2 separate regions of the Homo sapiens genome follow, and region 1 is linked to region 2. Evidence: promoter capture Hi-C in 16 types of primary human blood cells and fetal thymus (Javierre and others, 2016). All regions are on one chromosome and are shown on one strand. The core of a region is centred on a gene start or on the middle of the fragment in contact, and the rest is flanking DNA. Distances in the headings are between cores, read along the strand shown.

Region 1 (7,160 bases), core at 126-2,625, 4.1 Mb after region 2:
TGATCATCCTAGGCCAGAAGCTTTATTGTTTGGCCCATAATAGGTGCTTAATAAATATTTGGTAAATGAATGGATCCTTTCTCTATGTAGCTAATTCTGTGTGCAACAAAAGGGTCTCAGGCTTCTCAAACCAATGAGTGCAGCTTTAGACCTATTAAGACAGATGGCTAAATTCAGGAAAAAGCTAATAGAAAGTGACAGACTGAAAATAAGAAAGAGAGAGGAAGCAGAGTGAGGTAGAATTAAAAATATCAAGATTTTTTAATGTGATTCTACTGCTGGTGGAAAGAAAGTTAGAAAATAAAATTTTAAAGAATAACATACGTAATAGTGTGTGGGCCCTTTTGTTATAGGGGGCAACATTATTACTATCTTGGGTAAAACTCACATAGGGTCTGAGAAATATAGGTAGTGAATGTTTATTTCCTAATTTTGGTGGTATGTTATTAGAAATGTCTTTGGTGTAAGAAATATACACTGAAATAGCATGACGGTACATCATGGCAACATGGTCTCAAAGGCATTAGGAAAAAGTTATTTGTACTGTTATCGCAACTTCGCTATAAGAAATTTTCTCTTAAGATAAAAACATTTTTAAAAGGAAAATGTATAGTAAATGTTTAGTCAGAAACCAAATAACCAAAACCTTTGACTAACATTTATTATGTGTATGTATATGTATGTGCTAGCAATTTAATTGTGTAAATATAGTATTAATAGAAAAATTAAAACAAAGATGTACTTTTTAAAATTAACTTGCCTGGTATAAAACTGTCACCACTAACTTTCTTTTACAGTAAGAATTGATGAATCCTATAACTCCTGCCTCTATATATCTCATCTTATAAAGTGAGAATTTATAATCAGAACACTGTCTCTTAATGATAACAGATTAATTATTCTGGGTAATCTATATTAGTAGGAAGCATAGTTTCATTAAGAAGTATTGAGACAATCATTTCTGGGGTTAATCCTGAGTTAAACAAAAGATATACTAACTAAAATATGTAATTCTGAGTATTAAGATAAATTGAGATAGTATTGAGTTAACATACATATCCAAAATCAGGTAAAATTCACTATTTTTCACTGTAATTGTTTTCTGTAACAATATAATATTTAACAGCCACTTTTTATTATGGTTAAGGAAATTTGCAAAATTCTATTGTTTCCTACACAAGAAGTACCAAAAAACTACTAAGGAATATGATGGATGAGCAACAAGCTTCCTTGGATTATTTATCTAATCAGGTATAGATGTTTTAGTATTGTGTTGTTATTGCATGTACACGTTGATGTATAGTTAGCTGGAGGTATAATCTTTTTTTAAAATGCATTCATGTTCAGACATCTATTTAGCGCCTACCATGTTAGAGGCACCATAGTAAACTTTAGGCAAACAAAAAGCAGTAAAAAAATCGAACTTAATTCAAGGGGTATGGTCTAGTGGAGCATTAAAATGTGTTGACAAAAATGTGGTTGCTAGAATGGCACAAAAGAGAACTCTCAGATACAAAAAGCTTCCCAGAGGAGAAAGTCTGTTAACAGTCATGAAGGATGAATAAATGTTTTAAAAATCATAAAGGTTGGGTAAGGCGAAGAGGACATTCCATTCTGGGGAAACTTCTTGGTGTTGGTACAGGGTGGAGTGGCTGGTGAGGTTGAGTATTTAAGGAAAACTGACTATAGGAATAGGCAAGAACGAAGTCATACCACACCAAGGAGCCACTGTAGTGTTTAAGCAAGGAAATGCCACAATCTGATTAACTTGTGTGGCCAATGACTTGAGGAAGAGCCAAAGGAGGAGGTAAGAAACTACAGCAATGGTTTGGACAAGGTATGAAGGGCAGATGTGCAAGAGCAGCCAAATGCAGAAATCGGGGCAGATAAAATCAACGTTAAGGAGGTAGATACTACGAAATTTAATGATTGCTATTTAGCTTTGCCTTTATTCTTTGTTAAAGCAGTAAGAAATCAATCTAGAAAAATGGGCACCATTACGTATTTCAGAGCTGGGTTTATGAGAGGCTTAGAGATGGCAATTTCTTCAAATATAAATTTACTTAAATGTGTATGCATGTGTTTAGGTTAACGAGCTCATGAATAGAGTTCTCCTTTTGACTACAGAAGTTTTTAGAAAACAGCTGGATCCTTTTCCTCACAGACCTGTTCAGTCACATGGTGAGAACTTTGGTATTTCAGCCTTTTCATGTTTGTCTTTTATTGCTTAAAATTTTCCTGGACAGGTCGATCCATTTAAAAGTTTTATTTAAAAACTACAGCTCACCGTTCTCTAACAGACTGGAGGGCTAATACCTGCTATTAAGCAAATTTCACCATAGACAACGTGTACTTTCTTAAAATGGGAAACTTTTTCAACCATGTGAAAGCCATGGCTGTATAAAGATATCCTGAAGCTGTTGAAAATAACATAGCTTTCTATAGCTTTGTTCTGGACTCCCAGTTTATATCTTATTAATAATTCATCTTCAGATAGAAGAAAAGAAAGTTTCAAAGTTCCTCCCACCTGTAAAAAATGTTTTTGACATGTTTGAAATGTTTCAAATTGGGGCATAAAATTTGAAAAGAAAAAGAAATGTAAGACAAGAATAAACTGAAAGTTAGCACTTTTTATACTAAAATACAGCATATTAATTCCTAGAGGTTTGGACTTCTAAGAAAAATACCCTATAAATCTTATAAATATGAATTTATCCCCAAATGTTTAAAGCAAATAAATATTATTGAGGGCCTAGAACATGATCTTTATGTCCTTCTTCGAAAAAGAAGACAATAAACAGTGCCTAAAAATCTTCTATGTGATAGGTAGGAAGACAGGCACTTTCTCACATTATTTTGTTATTAAAATTATTTTATTATATCTCATAACTGCCCCAAAGCAGGCATAATGTGGTAGTCAGGAGCATGGACTCTGATGTCAGACTCCTTGGTTTCAAATTTCTTGCTTGCTGCTCTCTTGATATGTTTTCTCATCAGTAAACTGATAGTACCTACCTCTTACAGTTGATGTGAGGATTAAGTGAATAAATACAGGAAAGTCTCTTAAAATATTGCCCGAATCAAATGTTTATCACAAGGAAATAAAAAAAATGCCCGAATCACAGGCAGAACAATATAAGGGCTTGCTTGCTATGATCATCATCATCAGATAAGAAATATCCAGCCCAGAAAAATCGAAATAATCTGTTCACATTAATTTGAAAGGTAATGACATAGCAGACACTCCAACCCAGATCGGTCCTTCAGCGTGAACTTCTTTCATGTCTCTGAGCATAAAGTCATTATAAGAATATCTCTTAACAATTAAGGATACAGGCAACAACAAATCTATGTCTCCCAGAGACGAAGGGGAAAACAAGTGACTTTTTATAGCTAACTTTTTGTAGATGGCATTTTCTTCATTATTTGGGTGTGCTGGGCACTATGGTAAAGGCTTTATGTAATACCTTACTACGTAAATAGTTAGGATAACACTATGAAGTAAAGTGTTAGGAGTAGAACTAGGATGTTAAGATGGGCATTTGGATAATGGACGCTCTAAGGGTTGAATTTATTTCACTTATAAAAGATGCTACAGAGTAGAGTATCTTCCAGAAAATGTAATATCCATATCCACATACACGTGTTTACAATCCTGGGGAGATGAGTGCTTTGGAGAAGGTGATTATGGGGTGCTATAATTCTAACTGTTGTTAACAGAGTAGGCTCTAACATCAGGCATAATTTCTTGGGGAAGAAAGTGATTTTCCCCTTTCTTCCTTTGGCTACTTGTATTAGTGGTCCCAAACACATCAGTCTCTGAAGTTGGGAATAGAATAGTGAAATATGTGTCTGTAGTGGTTAATCTACTTATTCCTTTTGGTTTTCTCCTCCCTATTCATGTAGATTTCCTTTACACATTACATTCTCTAAGATAAACCTAAATTTCTGAAATGGCATTATTTATTGGTAAAGAGAATGTGTAATTATAAAATATGTTTAATAAGTGTTGATCCCAAATGAAACTTTTAAATAGTATAGGAAACTAATCACTAACAGTGACATTATAAGTGAAGGCTTATTGCAGCATAAATTCTTTAATCCCTTATATTTTCTTTTTATTTCTAAAATTGTGACCATTTTTCATTTTGAAGAAGTTAAAATAATATAATAATGAAAATTATGATAATAGCACTATCAATTCTCTATAGTAAAATGATTGCCTTAAATGTACATTTGAAAATATCCCAATTAAATAATTTTGCTTTTCTAGGTTTAGATTGCACTGATATTAAGGATACCATTGGCTCTGTCACCAAAACACCGAGTGGTTTATACATAATTCACCCAGAAGGATCTAGCTACCCATTTGAGGTATTTCCCGTATTTGAAGTTTTCCCGTATTATGTGGGCTAAGATAAACATCCAACCAATTTAATTTATGTTAAAATTTAAATTGTTTTAATATTTAATTTTTCCTCAAAAAATTTTAAATAAATTAGGTAAAGTTCTACTTTCAAAATTTTGGTTTTTTAGAATTCTAATGCCCAAAACATGAATTAATAAAAGAGCTAGAGTCTGTCTTTCACTTTTCTATTTGAGTTTCCATGGTTATACTCTTTAAAGTAAATCCATGTGATGCAAAAGCTTGTATTATCCTCGTAACAGGCAGAACTATAGCAGGCAGAACTATGCAATATAAATACTTGCTTGCTTTAATTAGCCTGTGGATATTGGAAAATAATGGTGTGCTTTGCCTTGGAGCTTACTAAAAATACTTTTGACTTCCCTTCCTGTATATGGTTATAATTTCTTCTGATGATAGATGATTTTATGTGATTGTATGAGAAATTAATAATTAAAAAACCTTTCAGTGGGGTACAAGGCAGACTGAAAAGCTGATTCATTCTGAAATTGATAAAATAAATTACTCTTATGTCTATTCTTAGTAGTTCTCTGCAAGGATATCTAGTAGAAATTTCTACTAGAGACTATGCATATTGATGGAATATATATGTGTGTGTGTATATATACACACGCACACACACATACAGTTATATATATTATATATATATTTTCCTGGGCACTTCTTTGTGCAGAAGAAAGTTTATGATACTTATACCTTATTGATAGTCTTTATTGGATAATAAAGTCACTTTTTTTCTAAGTAAATACTACCGGTTTCTCTTCTTAGAGTTACTACCATTATTTTATTTGGAATCTATTGACAAGATGTCAAAAAATTGGAAATTAGGTGGGAAATAATTTTAAAATTACCTAAGTTACTTCACCTACAGATTCAAAACTGGATCTGAACAGATGTGGAAAAGGAAGGCTTCTAATTTTATGAAGAGTGGGATGCATAATCACCTCTTTTGTGGGAAAGTGCTGGTTCCTTAACTTCCTCCACACTGCCTTTTCTCTGTCTCTATGCGGGAAGTTTCTGAGGGAGAATTTTGCTCTGATTTCTTCCCTATATCGCTTCTATGGGTGCCCTACAGAGGTCCTTTTAGGGGCATTTTACACAGCATCAACAGATGTGTCTATGAGCACCTGCTGAGTGGGCACAGATCATGCCTTTCTCTGAAAATGCCAGTCTGAAAACAGGCCTTCCAGGTTTGTGGGAGAAAAGAGCAAAGACAAGCACGTGAAATATTTAGCCGTGCACACACACCCCCCCACCCCCAGTGTTTTAATTCAAAATTTAGTTTATAGAGAAATACATTGCTCTGCCACATCAGAGCAATACTGTTATACAAACTGAAGAATATTTATAAAGTTGAGTAATAAGAGGATAACTTTAAAATGCTGCAAATACGGCCAGGCGCGGTGGCTCACGCCTGTAATCTCAGCACTCTGGGAGGCGGAGGCGGGAGGATCACGAGGTCAGGAGATCGAGACCATCCTGGCTAACACAGCGAAACCCCGTCTCTACTAAAACATACAAAAATACAAAAGAAAAAAAAAAAAAAAAAAAAAGCCGGGGGTGCTAGCGGGCGCCTGTAGTCCCAGCTACTCGGGAGGCTGAGGCGGGAGAATGGCGTGAACCCGGGAGGCGGAGCTTGCAGTGAGCCGGGATCGCGCCACTGCACTCCAGCCTGGGCGACAGAGGGAGATTCTGTCTCAAAAAAAAAGGGGGGAAAAAAAAGCTGCAAATACATATTTTTAAAAATGATTGTTATAAGGACTGTGATTAAGTTAATTACAAATTTGTTTGATAATAAACAGTATTATTTAGGTTAATTACAGGTTTGCTTTATAATAAACAGTATTATTTCTAGAAATATAAAAAACATCTGAATAAATTAATGGCATATGATTGCATTGAAAACTCAGTGGCAGTACCGTCTCTTTTTCTAAGCCTAAGGATGAAGCATGAGTGTTATATTATCAAATAATGAAAATAATAGTGTATTATTTTGGTCTTCTCTGTGCTTATTTTAGGTAATGTGTGACATGGATTACAGAGGAGGTGGACGGACTGTGATACAGAAAAGAATTGATGGGATAATTGATTTCCAGAGGTTGTGGTGTGATTATCTGGATGGATTTGGAGATCTTCTAGGTTAATTTTTTTGTATTTCTACTCTACATTGTTTACTCTTTTTGATATTATATCTATAGAGCCTCTATTGGTCAGATCTGTAGTAAAAATAGCAAATGCTTGCAAATATCAAAATATAACTTAAATCACCCTCTTTTCATATGCCAGATTATTTAAAATAAGTAGGTCTTCAGTGGAGATCTGGAAATCTTTATTTGTAGATATCTGGTGAAATGTGATTTGAGTGAAAATTCTAGATTGGATATGTATTAAGTATCTATTATGCACCCAGCAGAATTCTGGCAGGTGCTCACCAACGGTTTGCAGAACGAAAAACTGAATGGCAGCGTTGTCCTAGATCTTAAAATTCTTGAGAGGTGTGTTGTATCTATACAAGCCAATGAAATGGCGAATTGAGGTATGTGTCTGTGCAAACCCAAATTATTTAAACTGAGCATATTATTAAAATGTCAGTAAACATCATTATGCTCAAAATTTGAAAATTATAACCTCAGGTCAATGTAAAATCTGTTTACATTATTGCCACATGGCACCATCACATTTGCTGGTAAACAGAAACACCAATATTTCTGAACTTTGCAGAATTTTACATTAA
Region 2 (6,746 bases), core at 2,889-5,388:
CTCTAAAACTCCTAAATGAAACCATAGGGGAAAATCTCCTTGACATTGGTCTTGGCAATGATTTTTTGGATAAGACACTGAAGCACAAAGAAAAGCAAAAATAAGTGGTACTACAACAAACTTAAAGCCTTCTGTACAGCAAAGGAAACAAATGGAAAAGCACCTATGGAATAAAAATAGTTGTAAACCATATATCTGGTAAGAGATTAATATCCAAAATATATAAGGAATTCATATAACTCAATAGCAAAAAAACAAATAACCTGATTGAAAAATGGACAAAAAAATCTAAATAGACACTTCTCCAAAATAGACATACAAATGGCCCATAAGTATATGAAAAGATGATCAACATCATTAACCATCAAGGAAATACAAATCAAACCCACAATGACTCGTCACCTCATAGCTGTCAGAATGGCTATTAGTTTTTAAAAAGACAACAAGTGTTGGTGAGGACATGGGAAAAGGAAAACCCTTGTACACTGTTGGTGGGAATAGAAATTGGTACAACTATTATGAAAACAAGTATGGAGGTTCCTCAAAAAATTAAAAATAGAGCAACCATACAATTCAGCAATTCAGCAACCCCACTATTGGGTATATATTAATAAGGAAATGAAATTAGTATGTCAAAGACATATCTACACTTCCATGTTTATTGCAGTATTACTCATAATAGCCAAGATATGGAAATAACCTAAGTGTCCATCTATGGATGAGTTCATAAAGAACCTGTGGTGTGTATATGTATATACATATACATATACATATACATATGCACAATGGAATATTATTCAGCCGTAAAAATGAAGGAAATTCTGCCATTTGCATCAAGAGGACGTTATACTAAGTGAAATAAGCCACACACAGAAAGACAAATACTGTATGATCTCACCTATATGTGGAATCACAAAAACTTGAATTCTACTCAGATGCAGTGGCTCACACCTGTAAGCACTTTGCAAGGCTGAGGTGGAAGGACTGCTTGAGGCTGGAAGTTCTAGTCAGCCTAGGCAACACAGTGAGACCCTGTCTCAACCAAAAAAAAAAAAAAAAAATTGCCAGATGTGGCAGCGATGCCTGGGGTCCTAGCAAGGTGGGAAGATCACGTTTGCCGAGGAGTTCTAAGCTGCAGTGAGGTATGACCATTCCATTGCACTTCAGCCTGGACAACAGAGTGAGACTCTGTCTCTAAAAGGAAAAAAAAAAAAAGTAGAACTCAAAGAAGTAGAGGGCAGAATGGTACTGCCAGGGCTGGGGGTTGTGAAGAAACCTCCAGTTATAAAATGAGTAAGTTATGGGAATCTGTCATAAAGCATGGTGACTATAGTTAATATTATATTGTTTACTTGAAATTTTCTAAGAAAGTGCATCTTAAGTGCCCTCACCTCCCCCCCCCACCCCCCCCCACCAAATAATGGTAACTATGTGTGGTGATGGATGTATTGATTGTGGTAATCATTTCACAATGTATATGTATATCAAATCATCATGAATATATATAATTTTTATTTGTCAATCATACCTCAATAAAGCTGGAAACAATTTAAAAACAGGTAAAATTAATTTTAATAATATATTTTTCTTAACCTAATTATGCAAAAATTATAATTTCAACTTATAGTCAACACAAAAATTATTAGTGAGATATTTATTTTTTTCATGCTAAATCTTGGAATCCTGCATATATTTTACACTTACAGCACATCTCAATTCAGACACTATTTTTAAATCAGAAATACTTGATCTATATTTAGATTTCAAAAAGTTTACAATTGAAAAAGTATACACATAACCCAAATTTTCCAAATAGAAGTATCTAGTAACTTGAATCAAATATCAGTTTTTAAATTAAAGTTAATTAAAATTAATAAAATTAAAATTCAGTTATTTGGTTGTACTAGCCACATTCCAATGACTCATCTGGCTATCACAGTTGGACAGCACAGTTGTAAAGTAAGTGTGTAAGTATCTTTGGGTCAAATCTCTAGCCTGGACTTAAGAAAAATTAAATCAGCAAACAGGTTGATCATGGAGTACTGATAGTACACATTATGGATTACCTTCAAATTCTTCATTGTTGGTCCATATCCACTCAGACAAGATGTAGCTGAGAGGAAATAGTGAGGGTATTTGGAAAAGATACTTCAATTAGCAAAGAGACTGAGGTTAATTGGGGAAAGCTTAGAGTTCATGATACGAAAGCAAAAGTTTGTTAATACTGATTCACCATTCTTGTCCCCATTACTGAGGTAAATAAACAGAGTCAAGTGGTGGACAGGTTCTGAACAGAACTGATAGTGTCTGGTTATGATGGGGATAGCTAGTTATCTTACTTTCTCACTGCACTCATCAAAAAAACACCACCCACCATGAACAAAATCCAAAATTATAAAATACAACTTGTATTTTTCCAAAAATTACAAGTTTCTTTTGATCTACTTTGGCAAAAGTATAGACATGCTTCTTTGACAAACATGTCTATACTTACTGACAAAGTCATAAGTAACAATCTGTAAGATCAATCTGATCATTACATTTTAAAGAGCATATTTCATAATTACTTCCTATTTTATGGGAGAGTTCCTCCAAGAATATCCAGCAAGGATGCACCATTCCTCCAGAATATTCCACCATTTATTTACCAAATCTTTTTTGTCTGTTACATTCTAGGCACTGTGTTATTCACAACAGTAAACAAGAAAAGCCCCACCCACATAAAATATGTGGGAAGTGCTGTCAGAGGAAAGGCCGTGATGAGAGCTCGCTGAAGTAGGCTTGCAGATTTAGTAAACAAAAATTTTTATTTTTTTAAATTTAGCAAATAAACATATGGATACCAAATATTCCATTGGACAGATTAAAAATTATTTGCTTTTTATCTGAACTTCAAATTTAACTGAGCGTCCTGTTTTTATCTGGCAAACCTACAGGGAAGGGAATACTTGGAAGTGGAGGGAGGGTGAATGGAGATAATTTTGGAAGCCTTCCTTTAGAAAGGAATTTCTAAAAATGAATGCTAGGCATAGCGGAGAAGCAGGGAGGAAACACAGCAATGCAAACTGACTTCCCAGTAGCCACTGTAGAGTTCAGGAACTGAAAGAAGCAAAGGGAATGGGGTAAGGAAGAAGAAATGTGGGTATAATGTCGAGAGATGAAGGTTGAGGGAAAAGTAGGTGCCTTATTTTTCAGGTTCGATAAGGAGTTTGTACTGTATCACCAGTGGTGAGATTCCACTAAAAAACTTTAAGCAGCTCATTTTGGCTACAACGTGAAGAATGAACTACAGTCCGGCAGACAGGATGTTGGGAGACCAGCTAGGAGGCTACTGATGGAATTCAGGTGAGTCCACAGAGGCCTGGACAGAGGCAGCGGGAAGAAAGGTGCACTAATCACAAACACCTGAACGTGAGACGGCAGAAAATAAGCAACTGCAAACTTGAATATAGAGGAGGACTGGGAGAGAAGAAAGCAGAAGCACATATTTGGGGAAACAGTGAAGAATGGTAAAAAAAAAAAAAAAAAAAAAAAAAAATTCAAATGTCTTCTGGGAAGTATATAGTATGATAAGGACTAAGAAGTGACTCCTAGATTTAGCCATAAGGAAGTCACCAGCGACCTTTGGCACGGGCAGCCTTAGAGGAATGGCTGAGGCCAATTAGGTCGCAGCTGGTCGAGGAGAAGGTGATGCTGGCCTAAGAACCCGACTGGAGCAGCACAAGTTTCCTACTTCTTCTTTGCCCTTTTAACAGGTGAGGGTCAAGGACAAGAGACGAGTTTGGAGATGCAGCGGCCAGTGCCCCAATCAGTTGGAACAGCGCAGCAAGCGGATCTCTAGGGGCCAATCCCTTCCTAGAGTCCACTTGACTGACAGAGCTGCGCGCCACAGACGGGGCACAGACAGGGAGGTGAATCACGAGGGGGCGGAATTCCAGGGCACTAACCCGGAACCGGTTTGGGACTTGATTCCCATTGTGAGGCCAGGCCTAGGGCGGGCTCTCAGCCAGAATGGCTACACCATTCTAACCAATGGATGAGACTCATCAAATGAGCGGCAGCCATATGAGCCATTGGGGTGGCGGGAGATGGGCGGGCCCAGTTAGTGGGCGGGGGATCAATGAAGCATCTTTTTTCCTACCCCCCTTGGGGCGACCGTGGGGAGGTGCCGCCGGGGTCGCAGGTGAGCGGTTCTATGCTGGAGGAGGCGGCCAGGGAAGCGGCGGCTCCGTGACCAGTGGGTGCCCTCGCAGTGGGTAGGGTCCCGGAGGGGTCAGCGGCAATTGGCGCAACGCTTGCTGCCGGGTTTGGTCCAAGGGCTGCGACGTAGCGGGACTGCACGCTCGGGAGAAGTGCCACGCGCGTCTGTCGCCTGACCGGGGAGGCTGGGGAGGGCCCAGGCCACGGAAACAAGACTGCAGAAGTTTCTGGGCACTCAGTCGGGACTCTCATTTAATACCCAGAGAGAGGAGATCTTCCAGGTTGCCCCGACTCCCACCGGGACTCCTACCAGCAGCAACCTCATCATTGTGGCCGAGGCAGGTGCGCGCCCCTGCTCCCCTGGGTGGCCTTCCGGGAGCCCAGTCTAACTCGATTCTTCCCAGGGGCTCTTTTTGGACGGTCCCAAAGGAGGCAGCGGGAGGGAGGTGAAAGATACTTTGATAACCGTCGACCCATAAGTATACTTGTTATGCACCTACCACGAGTTTTAGAGAAGAACATACTTTTTGGCAGGGAAGTGAATCCCCTATAAGAATATAGGGGAGGGGAAAGCCACACTTTAAAGAGAATTTGGGTAGGGTTTGATATTGTAGATTTGTGATGCTTTTCTTCTTGAACTGCTTAACTAATTTACCCTCAAATTTTTTTGATCCGGAACTTGCCGTCTGGTTTTTCTCAGACTTCTTAATTCTGACTTATCATGAAGTATCTAGGAACTTCATTCTCAAGTTTTAGTGCTTGTAAAAAGTTGCCTGGTTATATTATGCCATTGGCAGTACATCATCTTCACAAGGATTACGTAAGTGAACTACATCTCATTCCTGTTTCCAACTAGTGAAGAACGATTGTGAAATGGGATTTTAGAAAATGGCTGTTCTCTGTGATTGGGCATAGAAGGTTTGTAAGTTTTAGAGACTGCAGCTGTTGAATCCTTTCTGCTAAGAGAGCGATGACAGGCAATAGAAAAGGGATAGTGTTTGACATCTAAAATGACATATTTTCACATTTTATGAGGTGTTATATCCCCAGCACCAAAAATAGTGCCTTTCACACAGTAGGAGCTCAGTAAGTATTTTTTGAGGAAATTATTGGGGAATGAATGGATGGTAGAAAACCCAAGCTTCTGTTACTTGGATACCGGCATATAAAGGAGAGGACAGGAAGACAAACATTTCTGGAAATGGCTTTTATCCAGGTAAGCATATCTACAGAACTTCAACAACTCAAGATGCATCAATGCTGGCACTTTCTTGCACTTAATCAGAAAATATCAAGGTTTTAGAAGAAGATTTTCACACAATTAAGCCAAGACTGGGTATCTAAGGTGCATCCCAATATCAATTTCAGTCAGGTTAAAAATGTATTAAAGCCCATTTGATTAAATGAAATAGTTCATCAGTTCAGAATAGATCAGTCAGGACAACGGGATACCACTTTGTAAGTTAGAGATATGGAGTTAGGAATTGTTGGTCAAAAATAGGCCCTGCAAATAGCAACAGCTGCTGTCAAACTTTAAAAATATATTGACTCAGTGGTACTTCAAAAGGACTGCTATTTCTACCATGTACCAATACATTTACAACAATGCGATTTCTAAATTGATCTCAGATTCTAAGAGCAAAATCTTACGGTGGATATCTGCATAAATTTGGACTCTCGACAACTTCAATCATTTTTATTATATACTTATATTGGTTATATATTTATATGTTACTACAGTAACAGTTCTTCCATATTAATGGTAGCCTGCTTGAATTTCAAAAAACTTTCACAGTTATATTTGTCTCTTTCAGTTCATTTTTAGCAAATAATAGTCTTATTAAGCCAGAATTCGCTTAGTAAGATTTGCTGCTTGGCACTATCCTAATTTTCCAGCTTTAATTCCTGATACTTCTTTCTTTTATTTCTGTCCCTCATTAGTCTGTTTTATAAGACCCAAATCAAATGCTGATTCTGACTCAAAACATTCCTTGATCCCATCAAAGATTTGTCTTTCTTATGAATATCCAGAGTATTTTGTTAGTATTTCTTTATTGTAGTTTTTGTATATTTGCATTATTCATCCAGTGAAGAAATATTTGTTAATTACATTCAGATACTGTACTGGGCAATGGATAATAGCTGACATTTGTGGGCTTACTATGTCTTAGGCATGATAAACTTCTTAATCGGTTTATCTCTTTTAATCTTCAAAACATCACGAGTATTAGTCTATTATTCCCATTTATAGATGAAGAAACAAGTTTAAGAGGTTAAGTAATTCGCTGGAGATCACAGAGCTAGTTAAGTGGTGGAATTGGCATACAGCCTTAGGTAGTCTGTATTCACAACCTTCAGGTTACAGACTTCATTACAATTTGTTTATGTACTTTTTTTATGCATCTGTGTTTTACTAAGTTGCAAATTATTTGATAGCAGGAATAATATATTCGTATCTGATCTCTTATTGCTCCTAATGTAAATCAGTGGTGTAATAAAGCTGATAGTGGAAGCACATAGGGAGGACATCAGACTTAGGTGAATGG

Evidence for each region. The method cuts DNA at HindIII sites, captures the fragments that hold promoters and counts their contacts. A CHiCAGO score of 5 or more calls a contact.
Region 1: a contact is called between a fragment that was not itself captured here and the fragment with the promoter of MSANTD4 in region 2, in 1 of 17 cell types (naive CD8 T cells). The highest score is 5.1, in naive CD8 T cells.

Annotation. Positions count from the first base shown.
Region 1 is chr11:101,899,835-101,906,994 of GRCh38, reverse strand. It overlaps ANGPTL5 (angiopoietin like 5), which reads left to right. Exons shown (of 9, transcript NM_178127.5): 4 at 1,148-1,251; 5 at 2,088-2,181; 6 at 4,274-4,374; 7 at 6,445-6,565. Among named protein-coding and RNA genes, the nearest start is that of CEP126, 12 kb to the left of the region's middle. The HindIII fragment of the contact is 295 bases long and covers 1,228-1,522 here.
Region 2 is chr11:106,019,632-106,026,377 of GRCh38, reverse strand. It overlaps MSANTD4 (Myb/SANT DNA binding domain containing 4 with coiled-coils), which reads left to right and starts at 4,138. Exons shown (of 3, transcript NM_032424.3): 1 at 4,138-5,416. RefSeq lists enhancers at 3,597-3,666, 4,497-4,616 and a silencer at 4,057-4,166. The HindIII fragment of the contact is 3,155 bases long and covers 2,189-5,343 here.